Linked DNA regions of Homo sapiens: regions 1, 2, 3, 4, 5 and 6 are each linked to region 7. Evidence: promoter capture Hi-C in 16 types of primary human blood cells and fetal thymus (Javierre and others, 2016). All regions are on one chromosome and are shown on one strand. The core of a region is centred on a gene start or on the middle of the fragment in contact, and the rest is flanking DNA. Distances in the headings are between cores, read along the strand shown. Region 1 overlaps BNC1 (basonuclin zinc finger protein 1). Region 2 has its middle 35 kb from the start of HDGFL3. Region 3 overlaps FSD2 (fibronectin type III and SPRY domain containing 2). Region 4 overlaps HDGFL3 (HDGF like 3). Region 5 overlaps HDGFL3 (HDGF like 3). Region 6 overlaps FSD2 (fibronectin type III and SPRY domain containing 2). Region 7 holds the start of C15orf40 (chromosome 15 open reading frame 40).

Region 1 (2,700 bases), core at 62-2,561, 250 kb after region 7:
ACTGGTCACAAACTATAAGGAACTAAGAAAAGGACTTTATTTCAATGAAATCAGGAAACATTACCTTCTGGGGCTGCACTGTCCAATGATAGCCACTAGCCATATATGGATACTGAACACCTGAAATGTGGCTAGTATCATATGTTGAAAGGATAATATTTTGGATATACTGAAGTTAAATGTTATTAAATTTTACTGCATCTGCTTTTTTACAGTGGCTATAATATTTAAAATTTCATATGAAGCTTGCATCGTATTTCTATTGGATAGCACTGGTCAAGAGCATTGACATACACTTCATCCCAAAAATTCTAAAAGTGTGGTTGAGAATCCAATTGGCTAGAATTGTGTGTGTATGTAGTTTAGTTCATATTTGTAACGTTTCACTATCCTATACCAGACAGAAGTTTTGCAAATGCAGCAGAATAAGCATACCACCAATCTTCCACCCAATGATTACTCTCGAAGGACAGATAATGAGTATCCATTATGACACATGCCTTTTAGTCATATGTTATCATTTGGAATTAACTTGTAAATCAATGTTGGTCTTCCTCAGAAATCCTCTGCTAACTTTTGACAAGCAAAAGTCCTTACCAAGGGGGTTACAATCTTAAAGGTGATAGGAGAATTATTCCAAATAGAGAAAACACTCCCCCAATACATATCAGAATGTATGGCAGAGTCAAGTTGGGAAAACACCTTCACCAAAATAACTAAGAATTGAACTTTTTAAATCCCCAAAGACGTGTGTGGGAAGCTTACTTATGTTTTATAAAATGTACAAAATTTACTGTTCAACTTCTGTCTTCTATTCCCTTACACATATATTCTGGACATAATCAGAATTATACTCCCAGATCACCCACTTTGCAAGCAGCCCTTCTTAACTCCAACTCTGCCCTGTGATTATGTCAGCATTCTGGGTTGAAGGGGCTGGTATGTGCCGACAGAAAACCAGACACTGGGTGGACGTACAGGTTCCAGTACATACAAGTGGTTAAAAAGAAAGACAAACACTTTTATTGGAACCTTGTAAAGAAAGGTCCCTACTGGAACAAAGCAAACCTCTGGGACTCATACTCAACTCCTGAGTATTCCATGCATACTAATGGCTAACTTGTGGGCTCTCGCTCCTCTCAAGCCTTAGAGGGTTAGATACATTTCCTGAGGTGCCATGTCCCCTAAGACCAGTAACTACTACAACTGTAAAAACCCTCTGGATCATGTGCCAGGCTTTGGTTTCTAGGACTCTCCTAATCCTGTACTCACTGCCCATGTCTCCATCTCTTCCCTTCAACCCTACAACCTCTACCTCTCCCCTCCAACTCTTCCTCTTGGCTTCTATTTTGATTAGTTGAGACCAGTGGTTCTCAAAGTGTGGTCTGAGCACCCCTAGTGATCTCTGAGGCCCTTTCAGGGGGTTCCTGAAGTCAAAGTTTCATAATACTAAGATATTATTTGCCTTTTTCACTTTCATTGTCTCATGAGTGAACAGTGGAGTTTTTCAGAGGCTACGTAACACAATTTTGCAACAGAGCATATGCAGAAGCAGATATGAGAATCTAGCTGTCTTCTACGAAGTCAGACATTAATGAGATTTACAAAAATGTAAAACAAAGCCACTCATCTCACTAAATTTTTGCTTTGGAAAATGTAGGGTTTTTTTCATAAACATATGTTAATATATAATTTAAAGTTTTACAATTTTTAAATTTTTAATTTCTAATATGATAAATTTTGATAGATATAACCCAAATAGAGAAAAGCTCTTGAGTAACCTTAGGTTTTAAGTATTTGTAAAGGGGTTATAAGACCAAAACGTTTCAGAGTTACTGGTGTAGACATATCCCTTCTTCCAGGAAGCTTTCCTTAACTTCTCAAGGTGCCCTCCCACAACAGCCTACATTTCCTTCACTGCAGAAGTAATCACATTCAACTGTAATTGCCTGTTTCTGGTCTGTCTCCTCCACTACAGAAGGCCTCTATGGGCAGGGATTATGTCCCCAGCACCTAACATAGACAGTTCTTAATATTTGCTGGGTAAATAAGCATCCAGGGTGTTGTCCCAGTCCCTTCCTGATGGGTCTTGGTAACTGTTGCTGGCAGTAGCAGTGGCTCAAAGAGAAGTTAAATGTCCCTACAGGAATGTGGTTCTCAATCTCTGACTGAGAGAAATGGTGTCAGGTCTGGGCCTGCCCACAAAGTCAAATTTAAAATACTGTAACTTAAATCATAGATTCTAGGTAAAATGCATTTCAAGTTCTAGACTAATTAGTGGTTTTAATTTATAACGCAAGATGCTTTCCTGTTGTGGTGGGGGAAGGCTCGGATCTATTAATACAAATAGGTCAGAACATAAGGAAATATTAAATCTATGAAAAAATAAATATCAAATGAAAAAGTATCTTGAATCCAATATGCCTTCCAATTTAGTAGATATTGTAGGATAGAACAGTATCATAAATATCAAAGATAATATGACCAACATGACTGTCTCTGTAGCAACAGCTTATTCATGAACAAACACTCCTCCTCTTGGAGGCTGAAGAAGGACTGGTTCACTAATTAGGGTGCCTTGGTGGTTTGGTTCAACATCCTATCAGTAGAAACACTGATTTAATATAAACATTTAACTAATATCTCCTGTGCTCTATCCTCTTTGCTAAAGACAATAAGTATGTTCTTATGAGCCCTGTC
Region 2 (2,988 bases), core at 334-2,833, 230 kb after region 7:
GTCCCAGCTACTCGGGAGGCTGAGGCAGGAGAATGGCATGAACCCAGGAGGCGGAGCTTGCAGTGAGCCAAGATCGCGCCACTGCACTCCAGCCTGAGCAACAGAGCAAGATTCTGTCTCAAAAAAAAAGAAATTGAAGAGGCTAGGTGCTGTGGCTCAAACCTGTAATCCCTGCACTCTGGGAGGCCAAGGTGGACGAATCACGAGGTCAAGAGATCAAGACAATCCTGGCCAACATGGTGAAACCCCAATTCTATTAAAAATACAAAAATTAGCTGTGCATGGTGGTGCACGCCTGTAGTCCCAGCCACTGGGGAGGCTGAGGCAGGAGAATTGCTTGAATCCAGGAGGCGGAGGTTGAAGTTAGCCAAGACTGTGCCACTGCACTCCAGCCAGGTGACAGAGTGAGACTCTGTCTCAAAAAAAAAAAAAAAAAAAAAGGAAAAAGAAATTGAGGTATACATAAATAAATAGATATCCTGTGTTCATTGAGTGGAAGAATTAATATTGTTCAAATATCCATGCTACCCAAAGCAATCTACAAATTCAATTCAATCTCTATCAACATTCCAATGTCAGTTTTCATAGAAACAAAAAAAGCAACCTAAAATTCATATGGGACCACAAAACCCCCTGAGTAGTCAAGAAAATCATGCACAAAAAGAACAATGCTGGAGAGGTGTCACACTACCCAACTGAAAACTATACTACAGAGCCATAGCAATTAAAACAGTATGGTACTGGCAAAAAATAGGCATATCAACCAATGCAATAGAATAAGGAGCCCAGAAATGAACTTATGCATGTATAGTCAATTGGTTTTAAATAAAGTTGCCAAGAATGCACAACTGGAAAAGGATAGTCTTCAATAAATGGTTTTAGAAAACTTGAAATCCATATGCAGAAGAATGAAATTGGATCCTTATCTCACACCATATATGAAAATCAACTCAAAATGGAATAAAGATTGAAACATAAGATCAGAAACTGTAAAACTACTGAAAGAAAACAGAGGGAAAACTATACAACATTGGTCTGGCCAATGATATTCTGAATTTGGCCTCACAAGGGCAGGCAACAAAAGCAAAAATAGACAATGGGATTATGTCAAATTAAGAAGCTTCTGCACAGCTAAGGAAACAATTGACAGTGTGAAGAGACAACCTACAGAGTGGGAGAAAATATTTTCAAGCCACATATCTGATAAGGGGTTAATATACAAAATATATAAGGGACTCAACTCAATAGCAAGAAAACAAACAAAATAATTTAAAAATGGGCAAGGGACTTAAACAGATATTTCTCAAAAGAAGGCATAGAAATGCCCAACAGTATATGAAAAAATGCTTGATATTGATAATCACTAGGGAAATGCAAGTTGAAACCACAACGTGATATTTCACACCTGTCAGAATGACTATTATCAAAAAGACAAAAGATAGCAAGTATTGGTGAGGATGTGGAGAAAAGGGACCCTTGTACATTGTTGGTGGGGATGTAAATTAGTACAGTCATTATGGAAAACTATATAGATGTTCTTCAAAAAACTAAAAATGGAATTACTATATGATCCAGCAATCCCACTTATGGGTATTTACTTAAAATACTTGAAATCAGTTTGTTGAAGAGATGTCTGGACTTCCATTGTCATTGTAGCACTGTCCACAATGGCCAAGCTATGGAATCAAGCATAACTCCAAATAGTGGGGTAAGGGGAAAATGGAGAAATGATGGTTAAAGGGTACGAAATCTCAATGAGGAGGAATGAGGTTTTTTTTTTTTGAGATCTATTGCATAGCATGGTGAATATAGTTAATAATAGTGTTTTGTACATTTCAAAATTACTAGGAGAGTAAATTTCAAATGTTCTCACTATAAAACATAAGTATTTTAGGTGATGAATATGTTAATTAGCCTTATTTAATTATTCCACTTTGTATTCATAAATCATAACATCACTTTGTTCCCTATAAATGTACACAATTATAAACTTAATTTATACTGGGGTAGGGAGGCAGTGGGGGTCAGGGAATTCCAATTATTGTAAAAGCTTTTTGGTGCTAGTTGACTTTAAAAACTACGTGCATATATTACTTAGATAAAAATGAAAAGTAGATGATTAAACAAACACTTTTTTTCTTTTAACAAAAGAAAGGAAGAAGATGGAAGGATGCTGGCAGGGTGGTAGCATTAGAGTGATCTTTTTTTAATCTTTGTCTTTTACTGTTTCCATGCACCTCCTCCCGCCCTACCTCCAATTAGTTTGTATTACTTTTGCATTCAGGAAAAAATTCCCAATATTTAGGAAAAGCTAACACTTCTTCATATCCTTAGATCTCTACTCTGGTGGCTTGGATATTGGGTCAGAGAAGCGCCTTCCTTCTTTAACAAAAGTCATACTATCATACGTGTTTATTTTTTCACTCAAGCATTGTGCGATAGGTTTTTCTCCCTGTCCTTCGGGAAGCTATTCAGGGTACACCCTACTGCACATCCTGACCTCAGGCTGTCCCTGTCAGCGGCCAGCAGAGTCCTCACTTGACTAGCTTTGGAAGAACCGAGTGGGGTCCGAGCTGTGGGCAATGAAAGTGGAGTTGAGTAAGAGCACCTGGCTGGGTTGAATGCCCATGACCAACCAGCCAAGGAGAACTGCTCACCCAGAAACTCAAGCAAGCCTCCACGTTTTGGTCCATTGACCCAGCTCAGGAAGAGGGAGAGTGGAAAGTGAAGGAGGAAAGGACAGCGGGACTGGTTCTGAAAGCTGAGAGAGCAGAAAGCTGAGGGCTCTCACTTCCCGTGTGTCCTTTTTTTCTGAGCCCAGAGGTCATGTGGTATAGCGGGAGAAACGCTAAGCCTGGGAACTCTCCCAGTTGTTCCTTCCTGACCTGTAAAACAGAGCTGCCCTTGCAGGGCTGATGTGAAAATTAACTACATTAAGTGAACTGTATAGAAACTATATGGTACTTTTCAAGACTACAAGGACTTATT
Region 3 (2,700 bases), core at 110-2,609, 250 kb before region 7:
AGACTTTTGAGTTCGTTTAGTCTGAGCCTTTATTTTACAGCTGGGCCTGGTAATGACTATCCTAGCAGCACACAGGTAGCAGCACACAGGACTAGAATCCAGGTTGGGTGAAATGAGCGCTAGCACACCAGTCAGATAATAGCATGAGCCATAAATTGTGCTGGGCACATGGTGCTTAAGTGCCAGGTTCAGCCAGCTAAGGCGTGAGCAGCTGCGAGAGGGGTAGGCATGGAAGACAGGAAACTGGACATCAGAATGTTCTAATAGAAAGTGACATGTTTTGGCATTGAAATGCCATTATGTACCTTTAGACACCCAGGCTTTTCCAAAGAAAAACAGGGATGCACAAATTCGTGAAGCTGACAACTAAATGTATATAGATGCTGAGAAAGGTCCACATTGAAAAATGACAACTTTGAATGTTCATAGTCTAATAGAATGCCAATCTTCTTTGGTGGAACTGTTATTCTTATATCTGGAGTTGTTCTGTTGTGCAGAAATTCATACTTATGCCTGAAAATTAAATTTGACATAATAAAGTTTCAGTAATTCTATAGATTGACTATTTATAGAACATTTCATACTAATTTTATTCATAGTCCTATGATTTTGCTATTTTCTAGTATTAAATGACTACCAAGGTGACAAGCCATTTCTAAAACTATACTCTCTAAACTATCTCTTTTCTAAAATTTGTCCTAAGAAACATTTTCTTTTTTTTTTTTAGATGGAGTCTTGCTCTGTCACCCAGGCTGGAGTGCAGTGGTGCAATCTCGGCTCACTGCAACCTCAGCCTCCTGGGTTCAAGCAATTCTCCCACCTTAGCCTCCTGAGTAGCTGGGATTACAGGCGTGCACCACCAAGCCCGGCTAATTTTTGTATTTTTAGTAGAGACAGGGTTTCACTGTGTTGCCCAGGCTGGTCTCGAACTCCTGAGCTCAGGCAGTCCACTTGCCTTGGCCTCCCAAAGTGCTGGGATTACAAGTGTGAGCCACTGCTTCTGGCCGAAACATTTTTCAAACATCATTTTTTCTCTAGCAACCTCTTAACCTAAGAAATTTACCTATAGCATCCTGAACTCTCTTTCATCTAAACTAGCATAGGAATAGAACATGTTTTTAAAATTTGGATTAGACATTTGAAACAGGGAACCTTGTGATTTTCCATGTGATAAAATGGGCTTCTTGGTATAAGCTCTTCTATGCACAGTTACTCCAGTTCTTAAACTTTCATATTGAGTGGGGAGCCAGTGGGCCTGTTACCAATCAATACTATATCACTATCCATGCTCTACATCCTGTGTACTTTGAAAAATGGCAGAAATGAAAACCTGTCACAGGAATTTCCTAACCCTGCTACCTACAGATATTTGAAGAGCTCTTTGTGTCAACAGGCTAGTCTAGGCTACTGGGATAAACACTTGGAATATGATCTAAACGTGTCAGAGGAAGCCTGCCTGTCTCTAGCCCATTTCACCTTAATTTAACTAAGCAGCTGCCAGAAGCTATGAGTCGTTTCTTCTACTTTCTATGCTACCACCAATAAAGTCTAATACTATGAGCCAAAAATGCAAGTCTGCTAGGAGACCTTATCCTAGGATACCTTACCTTCATTCTCCACTTGTAACGTGTGTGCACGTGTGTGCGTGCACGCACACACACACACACACACACCCTACATCTGTAAGAAACTGGCTTGGCTCTAGCACTTGGACTGTAGCTTTTGCCCTTCTTTTGTCATTCTTCTGTTTCCACCCCTCTTCTATTGTGTCTTCTTACCCCCTTTATTCTTCCCTCTACACGTGGACTTCTAGGCTTTCTTTATGCTCCCTTAGTTTTACTCTGCCCCTTGTTCTTGCCTTTCTAAAGAAGAGACTTTGCTCTTTAGTCTTACTTCAGGCAGAATCCCCAAATAAAGTATCTGCCTCAGTGTATAGTAATTCTTGGATTCCCCAAACTGGGTGTGAGGTTTAGTAGATTTCATTAGAGTCTTCATCTGTTATCGGAGGGGAAGTTGGTTTTCCCACTTATGCTTGGGCATGACACATAATGTGTAAATAACCATGATAGAGGATCATGGGCAGAGAGCATTGGATGAACATTAATAGGATTCATCAAATCAAGGAGGGTCAGAGGCCCCATTTTACAAGGTGTGATAGGAAAGCAGTGTGGGGTCTTGTTTTTCAGTTTTTGAGGTGAAGGAAGGTTGTAACCATGGCCTTCTAAGTCTGAAAGTGTATTCATTGGCCTGGGCTTCGTGAGACTTTTTTTCCCACTATATGGAACTACTCCATGTGTAAAGACAGAGTGCCCAGCAGCAGGAGCAAACCAGAATTAGCCATAACTACTAAGCCTCTTGCCCACATTTACTTAAAAAGATGGAACTGGGGCTTCAAAGCAAACTGTATTGGCTTAATACTAAAGGTGAACAGAAATGAAAAATCTATCACTTAAGTGGTTAGGAATGAAATCTTTGGAACCAGACTGCTTGAGTTTGAATCCAAGTTCCAAATCCATGTCGTTTGGATTATCTAATTGCTGTGAGGTGTGGTCTTCTTATTTTTATTCTTTTATTTTATTTTATTTTTTTATTTTATTATTTTTTTTTTTTTAGAGACGGGGTCTTGCTATGTTGCCCAAGCTGGCTTTGAAGTCCAGGGCTCAAACAATACTCCTACCTCACTCTCCTGAGTAGCTGGGA
Region 4 (2,869 bases), core at 318-2,817, 190 kb after region 7:
AAGGGAATAGGAAGATGCAGCTTGGTAGGAGTGAGGACTCGAAGGAAAAAAAACAACTCACTGAAAGCTAAAAATAGTGAAATTTAATCCATGTAGAAGTATTAGTTCTCCTTTCTCCCTAACTCATATAAAATGTGTTTTTTAAATTGAGGTATAACTTTCATACAGTATAGTGCACAAATCTTAAATGTACAGCTTGATACATTTTTACATATGTACACATCCATGTAACACCATCCAGATCAAGACAGGGAACATTTCCAGTGCCTTCTCCTATTCAATAACTCCTTTCTACCCACTACAAACCAGTGACCACTGTATCAGTAATTTATTCCTTTTTATTGTCAAATAGTACTCCACTATGTGAATATACTACAAATTTGTTTACTCATTCTCCTGCTGATGGACATTTGGGTTGTTTCCTGTTCTATCATGAAGAAAGTTGTTATGTATGAGCATTCTTGTACAGTATTTTGGTGAATATAAACACTCATTTCTCTTGGGTATATGCCTAGAAGAGACTGCTAGGTCACAAGGTAAGCATATGTAGATTAAGTCAGTTTTCTTAAGTAACTATCAATACACTCTACTAGCAATATTTGATAATTCTCATATAAAGTTTTTAAGTGTAAAAAAGTGCTTTAGTTAAAGCACAATAATTTTGAGGCTTTTCGTTTACATTGTTTTCTGACCTTTTAGAGTAGGGGGTAACATAAGCAGAGTGCTCACATCTCAGCGGAAGGTTTGGGTGGGGTATGGGAAGAAAACAGAATTTTGATTTCAGTTTCTTACTCTTTTAGCTAAAAAGTAAATTTTACTAGTATTTTATATGCAAGTTGACACTATTAATAGTATTCTTATTCAGATGGTTATGTTTATTCACGTTGAGTATACTGTGATTTACTGCCATTTGGTGTGTGCCCGGTTGAGCAGGATTATGGAATATCTACTTCTAACTGAACTAGCTCTCACCAAATGAACAGGTGGCTAAAAAAAAGAAAGATTCCTACACAAAAATAATATTAGTAATGTAGATGCAAGCAAACAACAAGGTAAATGTCTAAGCTGACACTTCTATTCTAGAAAATCTCTTCGGAAGTTAAGAACAATGACCATCCATCTAGTCAAATCTCACAAGAAGCAGGCAGAAAATATTCCAAAAATTAAGACTTTAAAAAATATGAACTTAACCTATAAGTAATAATAAGTATTATTACTGTTAACGATATTGTGCAATGAAAATTTTAAAACATATTGTTTTCATCATGTCATCCCTTTTAGTTTCTTTTTGTGTTTATTTTATGCTGTATATAGTAGTAACAGAAAGCACATGTATATATAAAGAAAATTTAGATATATTAGTGATGTATGCTCAAATTATTTTACCAACAGGGTACACAAACAAAAGCGATCAGAGACTCGTTTTAGCCTCAGTACTTTTTAACATTAAGCTAGCTAATCCATAACATAGATGAACTTCTAATTTTTAAAGCCACACAAAATTAGGCATACTAGATGAGAAACAGCCAGCTGCTATTTAATGTTAGAATAATACATCTGAACAATGGGGGAGAAGGAAGGAGGAGGACAGGAATCTACCAGAAAGAGGCATGAGAGTACTTTCGTAGGCACTGTTCTATACCTTGGTAGGTATTATGTCAATGTATTTATGTATTTATATTATATATATGTATCACATATACTTATATATATCAGACATATATCATATAGAGAGCTATATTTATATTATACCAATGTATACATTTGTCAAACTCACCGAATGGTACAGTTAAGGTAAGTACATTCCATTCCATGTAAATTTTACCTCAAAAGAGAAAAGGATCCATTCAAAGTATTAACCACTAGGTTAATGGCATGCATGTGTCTAGGAGTAAATTATGGCGATGTGTGCAACTTACCTTGAAATGCATTAAAATAAGAGGAACTATTATGTAGATAGAGGGAGGATATATGAACAGATGCATGAAAGAGCAAGTAGAATGAAATTTAATTGTAGAATCTAGGTGTAGATAAATGGGTCTTCACAGTTCAATTTTTTAAACTTATCTATATATTCGAAATTTTTCAGGATAAAATATTGGAAAAATAAATCTGAGTTGAAAGTTGACAATAATTTAAAATAGTGTAGTGATACAAAGGAAAGTTAGAAATTCAAAAAGGAAAAAGGTAGGAACATACAAGTACCATCACTTGGTGCTTTTAGATACTCTGTATTTGTGAGGTGAGAATTATCTTTATTTTACAGACGAGTAAACAGAAACTTAGAAAGATTACAGAACATGCACAAGGTCACAGTGTGAAGCCCAGCCAAGAGCTGAATCCAACCTGTAGGAATTCTGAATCCTCTTGACCTACATTCCTCACAAAGGGCTGCCTAGGACCAAACATCTTCCCTAGAGCAAGGAAGTTGCTTCTCCATTCCTGTATGAACCAGCTCTAATACAAAGTGCCTTCCTACAACATGTACTCTGAAATCTGTTTCTTCCTGGTTTCCCTCCTAAGTTTGAGTCCTTGGCGCCCCACAGTATCTAATGCCCACATGAATGGCCTTCGTATCAAGTGATAATATTTGAAACTTCAATAAGCAAGACTTTTTTTCCCAGTTAGCATTTTATAACATTATCATCTACACAGCTATACCTAGGTGTAAGATGGGAATAATGCCTCATAGAATTGGGATGAAAAAAATGAAAACATATGTGAAGTATACGCACTGTAAAAAAGGGGACTCAAATCTTTTTCTAACCTTTACCTTTGGAAATTGCAGCATGCCACTAACGAGAAAATAAAACTTCTTTTTTTGAGTCTTAGGTTGTTTCTTGAGGAGCTCGTTAAATGTGAATAGATA
Region 5 (2,768 bases), core at 258-2,757, 170 kb after region 7:
AAAATAAGAGTCTGTTTGGTTTAATAAACATGTAACTTATCAATTTTTTTTTTTTTTTTTTTTGAGACGGAGTCTCACTCTGCTGCCCAGGCTGGAATGGAGTGGCATGATGTCGGCTCACTGCAACCTCTACTTCCCAGGTTCAAGCGATTCTCCTGCTTTAACCTCCCAAGTAGCTGGGCCTACAAGCACACACCACCATGGCCGGCTAATTTTAGTAGAGACAGGGTTTTGCCATGTTGGCTAGGCTGGTCTCGAACTCCTGACCTCAAGTGATCCACCCACCTTGGCCTCCGAGAGTGCTGGGATTACAGGCGTGAATCACCATGCCCGGCAATTTAATATTTGAAAAGAACACTGTTAAAAGAACTGCAAGCATGATGATATGGAAACACCTTCCAAAATACTAGTTTGAAAAAATGTATGAAATATCAGGCTGAGTTATCTTCAAATATATAAAAACGACCATCTACTAGTGATAGAACAATCTTATAGCTACAGACATTTTTTCACCCAATAAAACCCTAAAAACATTGTCATTTTAATCTTTAAAATAATTATAAATAATTTTGAGAGGTCATGATATACCTAGAACTTAGTGCTTTTAACTAAGTTGTATATAGCAGATGTACAGGGGATGTATGCAGGCTGTATAAAGGGGATGGGCCAGATGATTTACTGAGGTTTCTCATTAGCATGTTACACTGCTGATTCTGGAGGAAGAATATATGTGGGGCATTAACTCAGCCTCATAGTATACCTGGGGAGAGGCGTAGTCTCTGACAACTGAAAGAACACAGCTCGAATAGTTAAAAGTGAGGCATTTCGATTTATGATCTTCATTTAAACCTCCAGGGTTTATCCTTTTCAATTCTTGTAGTCACTTTTTTTTTGAGATGGAGTCTCACTCTGTTGCCCAGGCTGAAGTGCAGAGGTGCGATCTCAGCTCACTGCAGCCTCCGCCTCCTGGGTTCAAGTGGTTCTCCTGCCTCAGCCTTCCGAGTAGCTGGGATTACAGACATGTGCCACCACGCCCGGCTAATTTTTGTATTTTTAGTAGAGAAAGGGTTTCACTATGTTGGCCAGGCTGGTCTTGAACGCCTGACCCCAAGTGATCTGCCCGCCTCAGCCTCCTGAAGTACTGGGATTACAGGCGTGAGCCACCATGCCTGGCCCTTATAGTCACATTTTAAATTGAGTTGTCTGATCTGGCTTATTCCCCCAACGCTGCACCCTCCTCCTCCACAATCCTCCTTGGTCTTCAAAGCTATTGTCCACATAGATTCTATTTTGAACAGGCATAAAATAAAACACACTTGCTTTTAGGGTTTATTTTTACTTTTGTTGAGGTAAAACTTAAATGCAGTAAAATACATTGATCTTAAATGTGTATTTCATTATTTGGTAATGTGATAAATGCATATACCTATATAACAAATACCTAAATCAAGTATAGAACATTTAAGTCATCTCAGACATTTTCCCTGTACTCTCTACCAGATATTTCCCTTTTCTCATAGTCTTTTTATGGCTTTTTATGGCTAGTCTTTTAAATTTTAGTCATTCTAGTAGGCATGAAGTAGTATCTTCTGTGGATATCTTTTAACAAACTAAAGTGTTATAATGCTTTATGTATTTACTTTAAATTTTAGTCATTTTAGTAGGCATGAAGTAGTATCTTCTGTGGATATCTTTTAACAAACTAAAGTGTTATAATGCTTTATGTATTTACTCAAAATAAATGAAAAGGTATGTCCACACAAAGATTTGTACAAGGTTGTTCATAGCAACTTTATTCCTAATAGCCTAAATCTGGAAATAGCCCAGGTGTCCTAATGAAAGTGGCCAAACCAACTATGGCATATTCATACAAGGGAACACTACTAATATATACAATAACATGAATGAATCTTTAAAACACTATGCTAAATGAAAGAAGACTTACACAAGAGTACGTATTGGATGATTCCACTTATATTAAGTTCTAGAAAAGGAAAAGCAAATCTATGGTGAAAAAAAATCTGAGTATGATTACCTCTGGAGATTGGGAAGGGTATTAGAGAATTTTCTGGGGTAATGGTAATATTTTATACAGGTCTCATGAAATTTAACACTTAAGATCTATGCATTCACTGTATGTAAATTTTACCTCAAAAGTTTAAATAAATATTAAACTCTAGTTAGTTATATGCATGCTGAAGTATTTAGGGATGAAGTAAATTAATGTCTGCAATTTACACTTTAAAATACATAAAAAATAAGATAGCTTGATGGATGAACAGAGATTGTTAGATGGACAGAAATGTGATAAAACAAATTTAGCAAAATGCTAACTATAGAATGTAGGTCTTGGGTGTATGGGTGTTCACCGTGATATTCAACTTTTGTGTATATTTGAGTATTTTCAAAATAATACGTTGATATAAATAGAGAGGGAAGAAGAGGATGAGACTAGTGTTAACAAATTGGCTATATCCTTTTCTCTTAAAATGTAAAGTCAACAGATATTATCTAGTCAATAAATCAGGAGACTACTGTGCTTCATTACAAGCCGAGGTTGATTTTTAAAACCCTGTACAGATTGAAACCACAGTAGTAGCTATTGGGTACTATGTTTATTACCTGGGTGACAAAACAATCTGTACACCAAACCCCCATGACATAAAAATCAAAAAGAAACCAATAATAATATACATGCACAAGGCCTGCCCCAGAAAAAAGTGTCATTCAAAAAAACAAAAATCGTAGAGTGAAATTATTGCTAAATA
Region 6 (3,008 bases), core at 319-2,818, 220 kb before region 7:
TCACTGCAACCTCTGCCTCCCGGGTTCCAGCAATTCTCCTGCCTCAGCCTCCCAAGTAGCTGGGACTACAGGCACATGGCACCACACCCAGCTAATTTTTTATTAGTAGTAGAAATGGGATTTCACCATGTTGGCCAGTCTGGTCTCGAACTCCTAACCTCAGGTGATCCACCCGCCTTGGCCTCCCAAAGTGCTGGGATTACAGGCGTTAGCCACCGTGCCCAGCCATAAATTTATTTTTTAAATGCATGCAGAGCTAAAAATATTCCTTTGTTTGAGTAGCGATCATTGGCAGAAGTGGGTATTTTGCCTCTTAGAACAACAAAAAAGTGTTTGACAGTCTACACCTGACTTTATATAGTCAACATTATAGGTACCCCCAAAAGCCTAAAATTAACAACTCCCGAAACCAACGGAACAACATGGAACTCCACTGTTTCTGGTTTCTCCGCCAATGCACCAGATAGCAACCCGGGGATTCTCAGTAAGAACTTCTACCCCAAAAAAAGAGGTCCAAAACAAATAAACAAACCCAAAAAGACAAGGGCAAAAGAAAGGATGTCCCCTCTTCACCACCTGGGCTCAAATGAGGGAATTCACTGGATGATGCCACCGTGAAGTCATCTTTGTTAGAATAAGGGTCTATCAAGTTGAATGATGAAAACAGTATACATTAAAAAAAGAATTCGAATAAGGGTCTAAATCACATACAATTGGTGATTTGGGTAAAGGGGGATTAGGAGAAAATGAAGCCAGTGAAGGAGAGGGATTGTGATTGGGAAATTTCTACCTTATTTACTCATGCAACAAACATGTATAAAATGCCTGCTCTGAAACATACCATGTAGTAGGACTAGGGATATTGAGACAGACGACCCAGCTTTCACACCAAGAGCTTATAGTTCAGCAGGGAATGCTGACAGGTAATTGGTTCCATGACGTCCATGCCCAGGTGCTATGGGAGGTCAGTGAAAGAAGGGAGGAGAGAAGGGGGAGTGGTGACCCCTCACATTCTAAGAAAACAGATTCTCTAGCTCATACCAGAAACAGCTGCTTGACATAGCCATTGATGGAAGAAATGTGAGTCTGATGAGGTCTTCAAGTGTGCTCTTACCTCCACAGTGATGAAAACCTCCTCCAAATGATTTGCAAAGTTTTCCATCTCAATTATCTGCTTTTCCAATTTGTACATGTTTTTGTGAATTTCATCCTATCCAACAGAGGATCACAAAGAAGGTATTAATGTTACATCTTCTCTCACTCTTGTAGAAGGCGTTTTAGATTTATTCCCTGCGTATGTACTTGAGATACCAAAGCAATATCAAGACAGAGAAGAACCAAGGACACCTATTTACCTTGGCACTTTCCAGTGCTTCATTGAGTGGGATCACTTCATGCTCCTTATGTTCATCAAAAACCTTCTGAAAAGCTCTTATTGGAGTCTTACAAGTGACACAGAAGACATCAGCAGCTTCTTCTTCATCCTCTTCCTCGGGGATGACATAGCATTCATACTCCTCGCTGGCACGGCCGTGTGTGTACCTATAGGCTTCCCGCAAGTCCTGGCACTGGCCTGCTGAGCCCCACCCTCCGAAGCCCAGGTCCTCGGCCTCCGCTGCCTCTCCACTAAGTCTCCAGTCTCTCTGCTCCCTGGCTGGGTCTCTCCTCTTCATCATATAAGGAGGATATTCTGAAACCCCTGTTCTGGGTATGTTTTCATCAACAAACTCATCCCCTAATTCATGATCATCTTCAAGTCCATATAAGTGGACAAGTTCATCCACTTCCTCTTGAAGGTCTCTTTGAGCCTTACCATCCCCTGCTCCTCTTGACTCATTGGCCATTTCAGCTTGGACTACTTTCCTCATCCTAGTGTTCTCTTCTGGAAAGAGGTGCAGTCTGTCTTCAGAGTCATACAGGTCCATGTGGTAAAAGTGGAAATCCTTGGGAGTAGACCTGTCCAGCCCCAGTTCCTCCCCCGATTCCTCCTCCATTGTAACTCTGGAAGTCCTCAGAAGCACCTTTATATAAGAAAGATCCTTCCTGGACACTTAATAGTGAATATCTGGGCCCTGGAACACAAAAGGAGGAGGAAAATCATTTCTGGAGAAGGGCATTGCAGTAGATGATCATTAGATTGGGCTCTACTCATATAAAACTTTAAAAAAATTATCTGTGTAGTTCAGTCGTGGTTTCACTTTGAACCATCTTTAAAAAATTTGTTTTCTATGGGAGGATGGGCTTTCTAAGGTTAAAAGAGACAAAAGAAATTACAAAAGAAATGTCTAATAGATATGTCCAACAAAATACTTCCCTCATACATTAAAAAAAAAACTTAAAAGGCAAAATAATGGGAAGCATCTCAGGCAATTATTATTATTATTATTATTAATTTATTTTTGAGATGGAGTCTCACTCTGTCACCCAGGCTAGAGTGCAGTGGCATGATCTCGGCTGACTGCAGCCTTTGCCTCCAGGGTGCAAGCAATTCTTGTGCCTCCACCTCCCAACTAGCTGGGATTACAGGTATGTGCCACCACACCCAGCTTATTTTTGTATTTTTGGTAGAGACGGGTTTTCACTATGTTGGAACTCCTGACCTCAGGTGATTCACCCACCTCAGCCTCCCAAAGTGCTGGAATTACAGGCATGAACCACTGCGCCCAGTCTATTATTTTTAAATTGTATAAATTAATTGAAAAAGTGGCATCTCAATAGATGAATGTGCACAGACAATTCACAAAACAATTACTTTTGTATATGATAGCACCTGCACAAAAACATTTGAAAAAAACTGTACTTAAAAGTAACAGAACAGGCCTGGCGTGGTGGCTCATGCCCATAATCCCAGTACTTTGGGAGGCTGAGGCAGATGGATTGCTTGAGCTCAGGAGTTCGAGATCGTCCTGGGCAACATGGCAAGACCCTGTCTCTACCAAAAATACAAAAAAAAAAAAAAATGCCAGGCATAGTGGTGTGCACGTGTGGTCCCAGCTACTTGGGAGGCT
Region 7 (2,700 bases), core at 171-2,670:
CCCAGTGTCCAGGTATACCTGTTACAGCATTTTGTTTGGAGCCAGGTTTTGCATGGATGGCTATGGTGACGCATCCTTTAGGATCAACTGCCACAGGACCTAAGGGAGGAAGTGGTCTCTCTGGTTCCTTGCTCTGGCTTTTACCCTAAAATGACAACCACACAACTTTACAGGTTACAAAATATTTTCCCACACATTTAATTTGATTCTTCCACTACCCCCTTTCACCCTTAACAGACAAACTAGGCTCATCAGTGGTGTCCAGGGACTTCTGGCCACCTAGAAAGCTTTTCCCACAACCTTCAAGGCTCTACTCAATTTTCCCACGAAGGGTTCCCATCAACCCAACAGTGTTTTTTCCCCCCTTGCAAGAAAACCTAACTCTGGCTTCTAAACCTTAATGCTTGCTCCTCCCTCTGCTTTGTATTTCCAATTCCTTGGGGGCAGGGATCATTTATTATTCATCATTGTATCTCATGCAGTCGGAGCTAATAAATGTTGGTGAAAGTGTGTATGTCTGCATGTTGCGGGAAAGGGAGGAAAAAAAAATAGTGCTTGATATTTAAAGGCCTGTTATGGGACAGGGGCTGTGCTAGGAACTTTCGTTCAACAAATATGTAGGCAATGGATATGTAAAGATGAAAAGGTACATGGTCCTTGCTCTCAAGGAGCTCGGACTGCTGCGAGGGAGAAAGAACATACAAAATTATAATACACTGTGCTAAGTGCACCGATGAGATAGGCACAGAACATTACCCCACAGGCAAATCAGCATTGGGGCACTGGAGAATGCTGCCAGCAGGAGGCAGTGCTTGAGCTGAGTCTGAGAAACGGACTGGGGTTGGCCAAACAAAGATGGTGGAAATGGGAGTGCTGTATTCTTGACAGAAGGGGTGCGATCAGCCAAAGCAAGGGAGGAGAAAGCAGAATACAGCCTCCTGGGGAAACGCAGGTCATGCCGCTGCGGGAACATGAATTGCTGGACTGGGAGTGCGGGTAGGAGGCCAAAGGTCAGCACACGCAGCCCAAGGAGAGCTCGGCTGCCGCCGGGCCCAGCGCTCAGAAATCACCAGGTGGACGGCAGCGCAGCCTACTGAGGCGGGGCGACGGCAGCAGGCCGCAGCTCTGGGGGTGGCGGCGGCTGTCCTGAGCCCCGGAACTGAGAGACGGCAAGCCGCTGGCAGTGCCTCCACTCACTCCCGGGCCCCGCTTCTCCCGCGCTCTTCAACAAGTACCCCTGAGGCCCACCCCTCTGCCGCCACGGGACCTGCTACTGGCCTTGGTCGTCGCACCAGCCTTCTTAGGCATCTCGGCGCAAAGAAGCCGAGCGGAGCCCCGAGTATTGGGTGTTGCCCGAAGGTGCCTCAGCCCGCTGCGGAGCCGCAGCATCCCCGCCTGGGAAGGCGCCGGAAGAGCCCTCTGCGCTTGCGCAGGTAGCCGGCAGGAGCGGCCCCACCGCCCGGCGCATCCGCTCTGGCCAGAGGGCGACACCTTAAGGCCGGCGGGAGCGAGTCTCGTGGCCGCAGAACATGCGCGAGTCTCTTTTGTTCTGGAACGGGCCGAGCCCCAGGAAGTGGAGCTGCGGAGCTGAGGCCTCACCGTGTCTTGGCCCACCCTGCTCAGCTGATAGGAAGGTGTGTCACCTCTTTCCTAATCGGGGAAAGAAAGGTATTGTCACTTCTCAGAATTGGAGAGCGCGGCAAGGAGTGCACAGGGCCAGGTGTCTTCTCGCTCCCACAGCCAAGCAGCAGATGCAGAGTCCCACGCGCTGCCTGTGGCCATCAAGTCGATATAGAGCCTCGTGGCGGCTTGGCCCTTGTGAATCTTCCACGTATCGATGGCGCACCTACCTTGTGCCAGGCGCAGCGGATCCCACAATGTAAAAGAAGAGGAAATACACTGCGACATGTGATATGGAGAGACATGAAACAAATCAGCAGAGGCAAGATCATGGAGTCACTGAAGGCTTTCAAGCAAGGGATTATTAGCAGCCCAATTTGCTGGGTTTTAGAAAGACACCGGCTGCACTGTGGCCGACAGAGGAAAAGCCAGAGACAGGGAGATCCGCCCCCTAAATGGGAGAGGGTGGCCTGAACTAGAGTAACCGCAGGGAGGGTGGAGCGCTGATCATTTCAAGGATCTTCAGGAACTGAAATGATCAGAACTTGGGAATGACTGCATGTGCGAATAAGGGGGAAAAGTCAAGGAAATGCCCAGGTTTGGGGCCCAAGGAACAGGTTTGGGAGGCCGAGGTGAGGAGTTCAGCTTTGGACATAATGAGTTTGAGATGCCCACAGGACATCCAAATACAAATGTTAAAGGGGTAACTGAATATATGTGACTGGAGTTTGCGAAATCAAGGCTGGTGATAGAGATTCTGGAATCTTCTGAAAGCAGATGGCAATTGAAGCTATGGAAATGGATGAGAGAGTGTGTAAAGAGCACGAGGGCCCAGGTTAGAACAGCAAGGGCAGGTAGAGAAGTCACCAAAGGACACTGACCAGGTAGGAGTACGGTGTAACGGCAGCTAAAGAAGGGCGCTTCAAGAGGGAACATCAACAGTGATGAACACTCTGGAGAGAACATGTCACATGTAACGACTGAGAAGTGGCCACAAGATTTAGAAATCAGGGTGGTGGTGGTGACCCGGGCTACAGCAGTTTTAGTGGAGAGAAGGAAATGGAGATAATTGTAGAGAAT

The links. The method cuts DNA at HindIII sites, captures the fragments that hold promoters and counts their contacts. A CHiCAGO score of 5 or more calls a contact.
Region 1: a contact is called between a fragment that was not itself captured here and the fragment with the promoter of C15orf40 in region 7, in 1 of 17 cell types (erythroblasts). The highest score is 5.2, in erythroblasts.
Region 2: a contact is called between a fragment that was not itself captured here and the fragment with the promoter of C15orf40 in region 7, in 2 of 17 cell types (megakaryocytes and endothelial precursors). The highest score is 6.4, in megakaryocytes.
Region 3: a fragment that was not itself captured here is called in contact with the fragment with the promoter of C15orf40 in region 7 in 10 of 17 cell types (total B cells, monocytes, neutrophils and 7 more); the score reaches 8.5 in total B cells.
Region 4: a fragment that was not itself captured here is called in contact with the fragment with the promoter of C15orf40 in region 7 in 13 of 17 cell types (megakaryocytes, erythroblasts, endothelial precursors and 10 more); the score reaches 25.4 in megakaryocytes.
Region 5: a contact is called between a fragment that was not itself captured here and the fragment with the promoter of C15orf40 in region 7, in 2 of 17 cell types (erythroblasts and megakaryocytes). The highest score is 8.0, in erythroblasts.
Region 6: a fragment that was not itself captured here is called in contact with the fragment with the promoter of C15orf40 in region 7 in 1 of 17 cell types (neutrophils); the score reaches 5.6 in neutrophils.

Annotation. Positions count from the first base shown.
Region 1 is chr15:83,258,659-83,261,358 of GRCh38, forward strand. All of the region lies in intron 4 of BNC1 (basonuclin zinc finger protein 1), which reads right to left. Among named protein-coding and RNA genes, the nearest start is that of BNC1-AS1, 24 kb to the right of the region's middle. The HindIII fragment of the contact is 1,106 bases long and covers 759-1,864 here.
Region 2 is chr15:83,241,211-83,244,198 of GRCh38, forward strand. No RefSeq gene overlaps it. Among named protein-coding and RNA genes, the nearest start is that of HDGFL3, 35 kb to the left of the region's middle. RefSeq lists a silencer at 2,593-2,793. The HindIII fragment of the contact is 930 bases long and covers 1,119-2,048 here.
Region 3 is chr15:82,759,088-82,761,787 of GRCh38, forward strand. FSD2 (fibronectin type III and SPRY domain containing 2) reads right to left here. Exons shown (of 13, transcript NM_001007122.4): 13 at 1-513. The coding sequence ends at 261. Among named protein-coding and RNA genes, the nearest start is that of SNHG21, 9.9 kb to the left of the region's middle. The HindIII fragment of the contact is 4,379 bases long and covers 1-2,700 here.
Region 4 is chr15:83,202,509-83,205,377 of GRCh38, forward strand. The region is part of intron 1 of HDGFL3 (HDGF like 3); the gene reads right to left. Among named protein-coding and RNA genes, the nearest start is that of HDGFL3, 3.9 kb to the right of the region's middle. The HindIII fragment of the contact is 5,158 bases long and covers 1-2,869 here.
Region 5 is chr15:83,180,601-83,183,368 of GRCh38, forward strand. The region is part of intron 1 of HDGFL3 (HDGF like 3); the gene reads right to left. Among named protein-coding and RNA genes, the nearest start is that of HDGFL3, 26 kb to the right of the region's middle. The HindIII fragment of the contact is 6,389 bases long and covers 1-2,768 here.
Region 6 is chr15:82,785,397-82,788,404 of GRCh38, forward strand. It overlaps FSD2 (fibronectin type III and SPRY domain containing 2), which reads right to left. Exons shown (of 13, transcript NM_001007122.4): 2 at 1,356-2,072; 3 at 1,115-1,210. The coding sequence starts at 1,994. Among named protein-coding and RNA genes, the nearest start is that of FSD2, 19 kb to the right of the region's middle. The HindIII fragment of the contact is 3,444 bases long and covers 1-3,008 here.
Region 7 is chr15:83,010,219-83,012,918 of GRCh38, forward strand. It overlaps C15orf40 (chromosome 15 open reading frame 40), which reads right to left and starts at 1,421. Exons shown (of 4, transcript NM_144597.3): 1 at 1,279-1,421; 2 at 19-145. The coding sequence starts at 1,389. LOC124903542 (a long non-coding RNA gene) reads left to right here and starts at 1,523. Exons shown (of 2, transcript XR_007064742.1): 1 at 1,523-2,700. RefSeq lists an enhancer at 1,599-1,658. The HindIII fragment of the contact is 2,628 bases long and covers 286-2,700 here.